Linked DNA regions of Homo sapiens: regions 1 and 2 are each linked to region 3. Evidence: promoter capture Hi-C in 16 types of primary human blood cells and fetal thymus (Javierre and others, 2016). All regions are on one chromosome and are shown on one strand. The core of a region is centred on a gene start or on the middle of the fragment in contact, and the rest is flanking DNA. Distances in the headings are between cores, read along the strand shown.

Region 1 (3,131 bases), core at 469-2,968, 740 kb before region 3:
CATTGAGGCAGCCCACGTATGTAATTAAAGTGTACATTGGTCTAGTGCTTAATAGTTTAAAAACCTTTCCATACGTGATATCTTACTTATTGGAGAAGGATTAAAGGAGGATATCAGTGTGGTTAGGTCAGGTAAATCTCTGTCTTTATTTTATATTTGCTTTGACTATGCACCCGTTGGGTGTGGCACTGCTAATTGTTTGCATTCTTGCTTCTCTCTCTCTCTCTCTATATATATATATATGTGTGTGTGTGTGTATGCATTACCTAATATGCTGGTAATGAATTGTTGCAAGATATAGACCATTACATGTAACTGAAATATTTCCAATTCTTTAAAGATTAATATGCCCTCTTTAAGACCCAAAATTCCACCAGCATCATAAGCTCCTTTCCCAACAACCACCATCACCACTTACCCAGCAATTTCAGGACCCCACAAAGAAGGTATTCCCCTTTGTGACACTCATAGCAAAGGTTTCTTGGGCTGAGAAATGTTTGAGTTAACAAAGCATTCTTTCAGTTCACACCAACGGCTTTTCCCCCCATAACCATACAAGCCCTGTGCGGTGCATGTAAAGTGGAGGATGTAAATACACTAACCCTCTACGAACCTCAGGTTTGTCCTGAAATGGACAAGATCAAGTTCTTAGAGAGAGAAAGGGGTTGATGGAGGCGGAAGGCAGATAATAAACATGACCTAAAACGTCTTTCACTGATTCTATGAAGCACATTTTCCCCCGTATTTTAACATCTTTGAAAGAGAGATGTGTCATTTGTGGTCTGCCAACAGGCAGGTATGTTGTAGGTATTATTGCCCATATATCTCCAGCAAAACTTGTAGAATGTATACCATTAGTGTAGAGAAAATTCCCAAAGATAATAATGGAGGCTCCTTTTAAGAAATGCTGCATCGTTTATGCTTTTAAGGGCACAGAAGGTATTGGTCGAAAATTGTTGACTTACGGTATATTAGTTATCTATTATTGCATAACAAATTACCCCAAAATGTAGCAGTTTAAAACAACAAACATTTATTAGTTTCTGTTGGTCAAGAATCTAGGACCAGCTTAGTTGGGTTTGCCAGTTCAGGGTCTCTCATGAGATGTAGTCCAAATGTTGGCTGGGACTGCAGTCATCTGAATACTTGACTGGGCTGGAGGACCACTTCCAAGCTCACTTAGGTGGTTATTGCCCAGATATCTGAGCAATATTGGGCCTCTTGATAGGATTATGTATGACATAGTGTGTGGCCTCCCTGAAGCAAACAATCTAAGAGAACTAAGAGGGAAGCCACAGTGACTTTTTATGACCTAGTGCCTGAAATCACAGCTGTTACATCCACTTTATGCTATTCATTAGAAGCAAGTCATTAAGTCCATGCCACACCCAAGTGGAGGGGACTTAGGCTCCATCTATTGAAGAGAGGAATATCAAAAAATTTGTGAACATAGTTTTAAAACTACCACTCGTGGGCAAAAACATGATAAGGTTATCACTGGCCAGGCATGGTGGCTCACATCTGTAACCCCAACACTTTGAGAGGCTGAGGCAGGAGGATCACTTGAACCCAGGAGTTTGAGACCAGCCTGGAAAACATGGTGAGACCCTGTCTTTACAAAAAAATTAAAAATTAGCTAGGCATGGTGGTGTGCACCTATAGTCCCAGATACTCAGGAGGCTAGGGTGGGAAGATCGCTTGAGCCCAGGGGGTCAAGGCTGCAGTGAGCCGAGATCATTCCACTGCATTCCACCCTGGGCAACAGAGTGAAACTCTGTCTCAAAAACAAACAAACAAACAAACAAACAAACAAAGTCACTGATGTGAAGAAACTATTTCATTTATATATGTATGTATTTCAAATTGGCACATAATTGTATGTATTGTGTAATGATCAAATCAGGGTAATTGACACATCCATCACCTCAGACATTTACCATTTATTTGTGTAGAGAACATTCAAAATCCTCTCTTCTAGGTATTTTAAAATACACTATAATTTATTGTTAATTATAGCCACGCTGCTGTGCTATAGAATTTATTACTCTTATCTAACTTTAATTTTGTATCAATTAACCAACCTCTCTATCCCTCTGCCAACTCCCTACCCCTCCCCAGCCTCTGGTAACCTCTATTCTATGAGACCAACTTTTTTAGCTTCCACATATGAGTGAGAATGTGCAGTGTTTTTCTGTGCTTAGCTTATTTCACTTACCATAATATCCTCCAGGATCATCCATGTTGCCAAAAATTACAAATCATTTTATTACAGCTAAATAATATTCCATTGTGTATATACACCACATTTTCTTTACCCATTTGTCCATTGATGGGTGCTTTGGTTGATTCCATATCTTAGCTATTGTAAACAGTGCTGCAATAAACATGGGAGTGCAAATATCTCTTCAACATTCTGATTTCCTTTCCTTCGAATATATACTCAGTAGTAGAATTGCTGAATTAAATGCTATTTCTATTTTTAGTTTTCTGAGGAACTTACATACTGTTTTTTATAATGACTGTACTAATTTGCATTCCTACCAACAGTATATAAGAGGCCTTCTTTTTCTGCATCCTTGTCAGCATTTGCTATTTTTTGTTTATTTGATAATAGCCATTTTAACTGGGATGAGATGATATCTCATTGTCATTTTGACTTGCATTTCCCTGATGATTAGTGATGTTGAGTATTTTTTTCATGTATCTGTTGGCCATTTGTATGTCTTCTCTTGAGAAATGTCAATTCAGATTATTTTGCCCATTTTTTAATCAAGTTATTTGCTTTTTTGCTCTTGGTTGAGTTCCTTATACATTTTGGATATGAATCTCTTGCCAGATGGATAGCTTGCAAATATTTTCTCCCATTTTTTAGGTTGTCTCTTCACTCTGTTGTTTTCCTTTGCTGTGCAGAAGCATTTTAATTTAATATAACCCCATTTATTTTTGCTTTTGTTAACTGTGTTTTTGAGGTCTTATCCAAAAAAATCTTTGCCTAGACCAATGGCTTGATGTGTTTCCCCATGTTTTCTTCCAGTGATTTCAGTTTTGGGTCTTACCTTTAATTCTTTAATCCATTTTGAGTTGATTTTTGTATATGGTAAGAGATAGGGGTCTAGTTTTATTCTTCTTCA
Region 2 (3,175 bases), core at 405-2,904, 760 kb before region 3:
GTCCCTAGGGGGATGCCTAATAAATTTAAGGCCCAAAACCAAAGAGCTCTGGGTTTAAGTTAGCACTCTTTTGGTGGTCAACTATTAATACAAACATGGATTAAATTAACTATATCTATTATATTCAACAAAAATTCATCAGTTATACTAAGAACGCCCTCAAAGGGGTGGCTAGCCAGTTAAATGCCACCAGCCAAATAGCCTGAGAAAACAGGCTTGCACTAGACATGACACTAGCAGAAAAAGGGGGTGTATGTGTTATGCTGGGTGGGAAGTGTTGTCATTCCCAAGAATACCGCCCCAGATGGCACCATCACAAAAGCTTTACAAGAACAACCCTAGCCAACAAACTAGCAAAAAATGCTGAAATTAATAACCCATTAATGGGTTGGGTAGAAGGTTGCTTTAAAAAATGAAAAGGTATGATAGGTTCAATCCTTACATCTCTCATAATTGTGGCAGGAGTCTTAACAGCAATGGGATGTCGTATTCCTCCTGTGTAAGGGGACTAGCACAAAAATAGCTATTAATAAACAAATGTGCATAACTTACTAGCAAAATAATCTGCTACTATTAGAGACCAAATTAAAGTTGCTCTCCTATAAGGAAAAAAGTAAACAACTTTTAGAGTGATTCAAGAACCAAAAGGGTTTAGATAAAAATAAAACCAAAGAAAGTAAATAGAAAAGAGGAGGGAACTTGTGAGAAAACATTTTATACGGTCAATTTTCAAGGCATGATAAATCTAAGTACTGGCAGCCAGCCTGAGGATATGACAAACCTCATGGCTCATGCATGTAGAAAGTCATGATAAAGGAACAGAATGTAGACGAGGAGTCAGCCCATAAAAGGGAAGAAAGTTTCGTTATTGGGAAATCAAAAATTAAGTGAGGAAGGGGGCCAGGGTATAACATTATAAGGGGCATATGTCCAGGCAAACTTAGGCAATGTCCAGGAATATTGTAACCCCATAGTACTCAACCACTGAGGAACTGGGAGAGGGGCTTACATGCTAGGAAGTAAATTACCTGCTGTAACTGCCCCGGGTGTGCCTGCCTACTAAACACCCGATCTTGCAAGACTGCCATTAAAAGTCTTGCTTCTGCTGTACTGCGTGTCTCCGAGTCCATCCTTTGGGTTTGGAAGGATAAATGTGTTTCTCACATTATTCCATGACAAAGCCAACTTCTTTTAAAACTTAATGTCTGTGTCATGAGCTGTGGATAAAACACTACGAAATTCTGAGCCACATGCTCTGGAAAGCAATTCGTAACTCAAACAGCTAAAGCATCTCTAGAAATATCGTTTAAAACAAATAGACCTGGGATGTACTTATTAATTACAATAAATTTTATTAAATATATACAAAGTAAGTCAATTAATTTGAGGTTTTGTCTTATTTTAGTTGTCAGTTTGTGTAGTTTTTGCATTTGTAAGAAAAATAAACTTTCTCTATGAACCAAAGTAAGGTTCACCAAGGACATATACACCTATAGATAAAAGAGCAAGTGTGCCTTTGCTGTGGATCTCTTTACTTACCTTCTGTTTCTCTTTTCAAACTGTGGGGTTTCTCTTTATGACAGTTCTTAAACCATTCAATACAATTACTGAGGAAACACTTTTAAAATACAGAAGCCCAGGCCCCTCTAGATTTTTTAAATTGGAATTTCCAAGGATGGGGCCCAGATATTGACTGAGAAGAACCAAATGACATTTTCTTTATGTCTTGGTAAGCATTCACAATTATTGTTTCTTTTGAAATGTGGGCCAACGTGATACATAAAGAAATAACCATATGACATTTTATATACTTTGGCTAAGTATAAATATATAATACACTCTGGTATGGAAACACATCATAATGTTGAGGAGCAGGCATACCTTTTTCAGAATATTAAGCAGATCCTGGTACTGAGAGAAAGAGTAGAGAAATTTGAAAAAGGCTTGTATCTTCTGTTGCCAGACACAGATAGTAGAGCAAGAATTTCACAGTGTAGCCCTGCCCCTCCAAGTTCCAGTTGATAGTGGTCTAGATTCTCATATTGAACCAAAGTCATCAGATTCAGTTCAATTAAAATCTGAGCACCTGCTGCATACCAAAAATTGTTCCTGGTACTGAAGTTAAAAGATTGTCTTCCTAGCACCTCCCTGAAATCAGCTAAAGCCAATTAAATTCAACAGGAGCGAAGGGAAACCCAGGCAGGGTACAGGAGTTAGGGGTGAGAGACTTTGGTTAGTCCAGCAGGAAAATACCTCCCTTCAAAAAGACAGAAGAAGAGACTCAAAAAGTAGAAGAGGTGTGATCATGAGAGACTGGTAAATAACTAGCAATAAATATGTCAGCATTTTTCCTACCTTAAATATCGGCCTTGGCAGGACTACACTGATTACAGAGGTCTGATTTAGAAATTGGCCTTGTAGACAGATATCTAACCCAGTGGCTCCCAAAGCTCACTGTACATTAGAATCACCTGGGAATCTTGAACAACTGCTGCTACTTGGCTCCCATTCAGGACGTTCTAAATTAACTGGTATGGGTGTGACCTGGGGCATTGTGTTACAAGTTCCCCCAGGTGATCCTAATGTTCAGCGAAGTTTGAGAGCCAGGTTCTAGTTCCATGGAACCTGGTTATTTGGCAGTTGTTCTTCAAAGCTAGTCCACAAACAAAGAGCATCAGCAACAGGTTAGAAATGCAGAACCTCGGGCTCCACTCTAGACTGAATGAACCAACCTCTTTCACAAAATCCCCAGGCAGTTCTTATGCACATTAAAGTGTCAGTAACATTGGTTGAAGACTATTTCTCTATTTTAAGAGGAGAAAAAGAAAGTTTAAGAACCATTTCTAACACTTTCATCACCTTTTCCCATTATCTGCCATGAGTGAATCTTAGTCTTTAACTGTTAGTTTCTAACAAGTATAAAAAGGAACTGATAATACTCATTTTCAAAGTGTAAATTTGTCTCTACTCTGAATGTGAAGCTTAAAACCTGCTGCTAAGGTGCAAGAACCTATTCAAGTTGCTTTTTATTTGCTTCTATTGTGTTGGAAGGAAGAAAGGGAGAGAATGATCCCTGCAATTGCCACCTGTTGAATATTAGCATCAGTAAGCATGAGCTCCTTTCAGGAACAGTCTAGATGTTATGACTCCATCCACCTGGCTAGAGACTCCTGGC
Region 3 (3,369 bases), core at 107-2,606:
GCACACACACTCATAGACAGATCTCTGGCCCAATCGCCATTAGACACTGACGCCTGGATAAATGTCCAAGATTTGTCAAAAGCTCCTCTCTATTCTTAGATAAATAGAACCCATATATTTCGATCAAAGTCCTGATTCTTTTCTCAGAAAGAGGCAGTGAGGTTTTCTGTGAAAATTTCTAAATTCCGTAAAACGCTCTTCAATTTCTTACCCAAAGAAAAAACGACCCTCGCTTACTCTCTTCTCTATCTAATCCTTTTGTATTGAAATTTACTCAACACCACGGGACACACACACCTCCTCCCCTAGAGTGAGACGTGCACTTCTAAAGCAGAATTCCACCTCAGGGAAAAAAAAAAAAAAAAAAAAAAAAAAAGCCACGGCATCAAAGAAACAACTCATGGGCGCGCAGGCGCGCATCCACGTCCCAACGCATCCCTAAAAATAACCCTTAGCCTCTCAACCTTTCTACTATTTCGTTGGAGAGCCGGGAAAGAAAAGGTGGGTTTAAAGATCTTCTTCAAAAATGTAGTGACGCTGTTTACCAAGTTAAGAAAAAAAAATCACTCAAGATTTTAGGTACAAGGAGCCAAAGGAAGTTGGCGACAGGGGCAGCGTTTGTGAATATTTATTCACTCAGCCTCCATCAACTTAGTCGGTTTCTCTCTTCAGCTCGACAGTCTCTCTCTTACAAACACACACTTTATTGCATTGTTCCCATTCCCCACTACCAGCTTTGGTGCGCGCACACAACACAAGCGCCCACACACACCCTTCCCTCTTCTCTGTCGCACAAATACACATGTTCACAGCCCTCCTTCTCCCCCAACACCAAACACACTCACCCCCCACCCAGTTGAGTCCCTCTTCCCTCCCTAGGTTTGTCAGTTACACTACCGTACACTCACACCCTTCCCAACACTTAACTGCTCTGTCCCTCTACCCCGCTTTGTCGCACACGCAGTTATCTTATCACACAACCCTCCCTTTTCTGCACTCTCTCCACTCCCCGCCTTTACCACACTGTCACTGTTACGGTGTCACACCCCCATCCCCCCTCCCTCCAGTCTCCGCACTGTCCTCTCCTACGCCTGGTCACACTCGCACACAGTTACATTGTTACACACACACTCATACACGCGAGCGCGCGCTTTGCGCTTTGTAACACACGCAGCCGCCCCCGCCCCCTCCGCTCCCACTCCCCCTTCCACCACGGCGGCAGGCGGCGGCGCCGATGACCTCACGGCGCGCGCGCCGCGCGGCCCGGCGAGGCCGCAGATTGGCTGGCCGCGCCTCCGCGGCACTTCAAAGCCGGAGAGGGAGCTACAATTGTGGTGGAATGGGCGGAACTGATCATTGTATTGCACACCTCTAAAAAAAACACTGCCTCTGATTTATCAATATAAAAAAGATCCTCTGAGAGGAGGAGGGCACTTTTGTGTGATGGCAACTTCACTTCTAGGGGTGAGTCTCAGGATTTTCTCTTGCTGGTTTAATTAGTTTCCTTTTATTGCCGATTGGAGGGGGTTAAAGTCGCCCCGGCCAGGCCACGGGCTATCAGTCTCTCTATTGAGAGCTTTTTTTTTTTTTCTTTAAATACAAGTGAGTTTGGAGAAAAGAAAAAGGGGGAGAAGGGGGCAGAGTCACTTTTTTTCAGCGCAGGAAAAGGTTCGAAGGGCATTTAGACAAGCCACCGCGCAGCGCCTCGCTGCTCCCTGCCCGGGAGACCTGCGTCCAGCCCATTTTACAGGCACCGATTTCGGGGGTAAAGAGAGCAAGTTTTTCCTTCTGGGCAAAGTGCAGATTCTTCCCCTAACCCTTAAAAAAAAATTCTGCAGCCCGCCTTGTCTCGCAGGTACGTTGAACTCGTCTCGTTTTTACTACTGTAGATATGCTTTTAAAAAAAGAAAGAAAGAAAAGCAGGAAGAAAGAGTGAGCCCTACAGTTTGATTTCTTTTGGCCTGGGAGAAACAACCCAGGATGGGTTTCTGGGGACCCGAACAGGTTTTTCAAAGCTCTCCGGATTACAGGGAAGCGCTCTTAAAAGCAATCCAATGGTTTTCCCCCAGGCTTCTCGGCAAAGAAAACTTCCTTCCTCTCCAATCTGGACTTTTTGCTTGTTTGTTACGAAGTGTCTGGGGCTTTGTGTGCAAGAGAGTGTTGTTTTAGGTGAGAATACTTGTCAAACTCTTCTTTAGCGTGGTGCTTGCTCCCGAATCAGACGCCGGCAGCCAAACTTGTCCCCTCCTGTAGAGTAGGAAGCGGCCGGGCGCCGGGGCTGTTGGGGGTGCCAGGTGAGTTGGTGGCGGCGCGCCGCAGCGAGAGATGGGGTGCAGTGGGGCGCTTTGGAGGCTACCGAAGGACTGATGCACATTTCTTCCTTTCCTCCCCCACCGGCCCTTTGCCCACCTCCCCTCCCCCACTCCTTCTCCTCTCCTCCTCGCAGGAAGAACCGAGGTTGGGATCGACTCCTCTGGCCATGCTTGCCGCTACCTGTAATAAGATAGGCAGCCCCAGCCCGTCTCCCTCCTCCCTCTCGGACAGCTCTTCTTCCTTCGGCAAAGGCTTCCACCCCTGGAAACGCTCCTCGTCCTCTTCTTCCGCCAGCTGCAACGTAGTGGGTTCCAGTCTCTCAAGCTTCGGCGTGTCCGGGGCCTCCAGGAACGGCGGCTCGTCCTCGGCGGCTGCGGCGGCCGCGGCAGCAGCCGCGGCTGCCGCGGCCCTGGTGTCCGACTCGTTCAGCTGCGGCGGCTCGCCTGGCTCCAGCGCCTTCTCCCTCACCTCCAGCAGCGCCGCAGCCGCCGCCGCCGCCGCCGCAGCCGCCGCCTCCAGCTCGCCCTTCGCCAACGACTACTCTGTTTTCCAGGCCCCCGGAGTTTCCGGGGGCAGCGGCGGCGGCGGCGGGGGCGGCGGCGGCGGCTCCTCCGCGCACTCGCAGGACGGCTCCCACCAGCCGGTGTTCATCTCCAAGGTGCACACCTCTGTGGACGGGCTGCAGGGCATCTACCCGCGGGTGGGCATGGCGCACCCGTACGAGTCGTGGTTTAAGCCCTCGCACCCGGGCCTGGGTGCTGCGGGCGAGGTGGGCTCGGCCGGCGCCTCCAGCTGGTGGGACGTGGGGGCCGGCTGGATCGACGTGCAGAACCCGAACAGCGCGGCTGCGCTGCCCGGCTCGCTGCACCCTGCCGCCGGGGGGCTCCAAACCTCGCTGCACTCGCCGCTCGGAGGCTACAACTCGGATTACTCGGGCCTGAGTCACTCGGCCTTCAGCAGCGGCGCCTCCTCGCACCTGCTCAGCCCCGCCGGGCAGCACCTCATGGACGGCTTCAAGCCAGTGCTACCCGGCTCCTACCCGGACTCGGCCCCGTC

The links. The method cuts DNA at HindIII sites, captures the fragments that hold promoters and counts their contacts. A CHiCAGO score of 5 or more calls a contact.
Region 1: a fragment that was not itself captured here is called in contact with the fragment with the promoter of SP8 in region 3 in 2 of 17 cell types (M2 macrophages and M0 macrophages); the score reaches 7.3 in M2 macrophages.
Region 2: a contact is called between a fragment that was not itself captured here and the fragment with the promoter of SP8 in region 3, in 1 of 17 cell types (M2 macrophages). The highest score is 5.4, in M2 macrophages.

The regions. Positions count from the first base shown.
Region 1 is chr7:21,521,045-21,524,175 of GRCh38, reverse strand. No RefSeq gene overlaps it. Among named protein-coding and RNA genes, the nearest start is that of DNAH11, 20 kb to the left of the region's middle. The HindIII fragment of the contact is 3,957 bases long and covers 1-3,131 here.
Region 2 is chr7:21,545,307-21,548,481 of GRCh38, reverse strand. The region is part of intron 2 of DNAH11 (dynein axonemal heavy chain 11); the gene reads right to left. Among named protein-coding and RNA genes, the nearest start is that of DNAH11, 3.9 kb to the right of the region's middle. RefSeq lists an enhancer at 2,321-3,175. The HindIII fragment of the contact is 2,659 bases long and covers 325-2,983 here.
Region 3 is chr7:20,784,873-20,788,241 of GRCh38, reverse strand. It overlaps SP8 (Sp8 transcription factor), which reads left to right and starts at 1,356. Exons shown (of 2, transcript NM_182700.6): 1 at 1,356-1,464; 2 at 2,447-3,369. The coding sequence starts at 1,444. The HindIII fragment of the contact is 6,810 bases long and covers 1-2,639 here.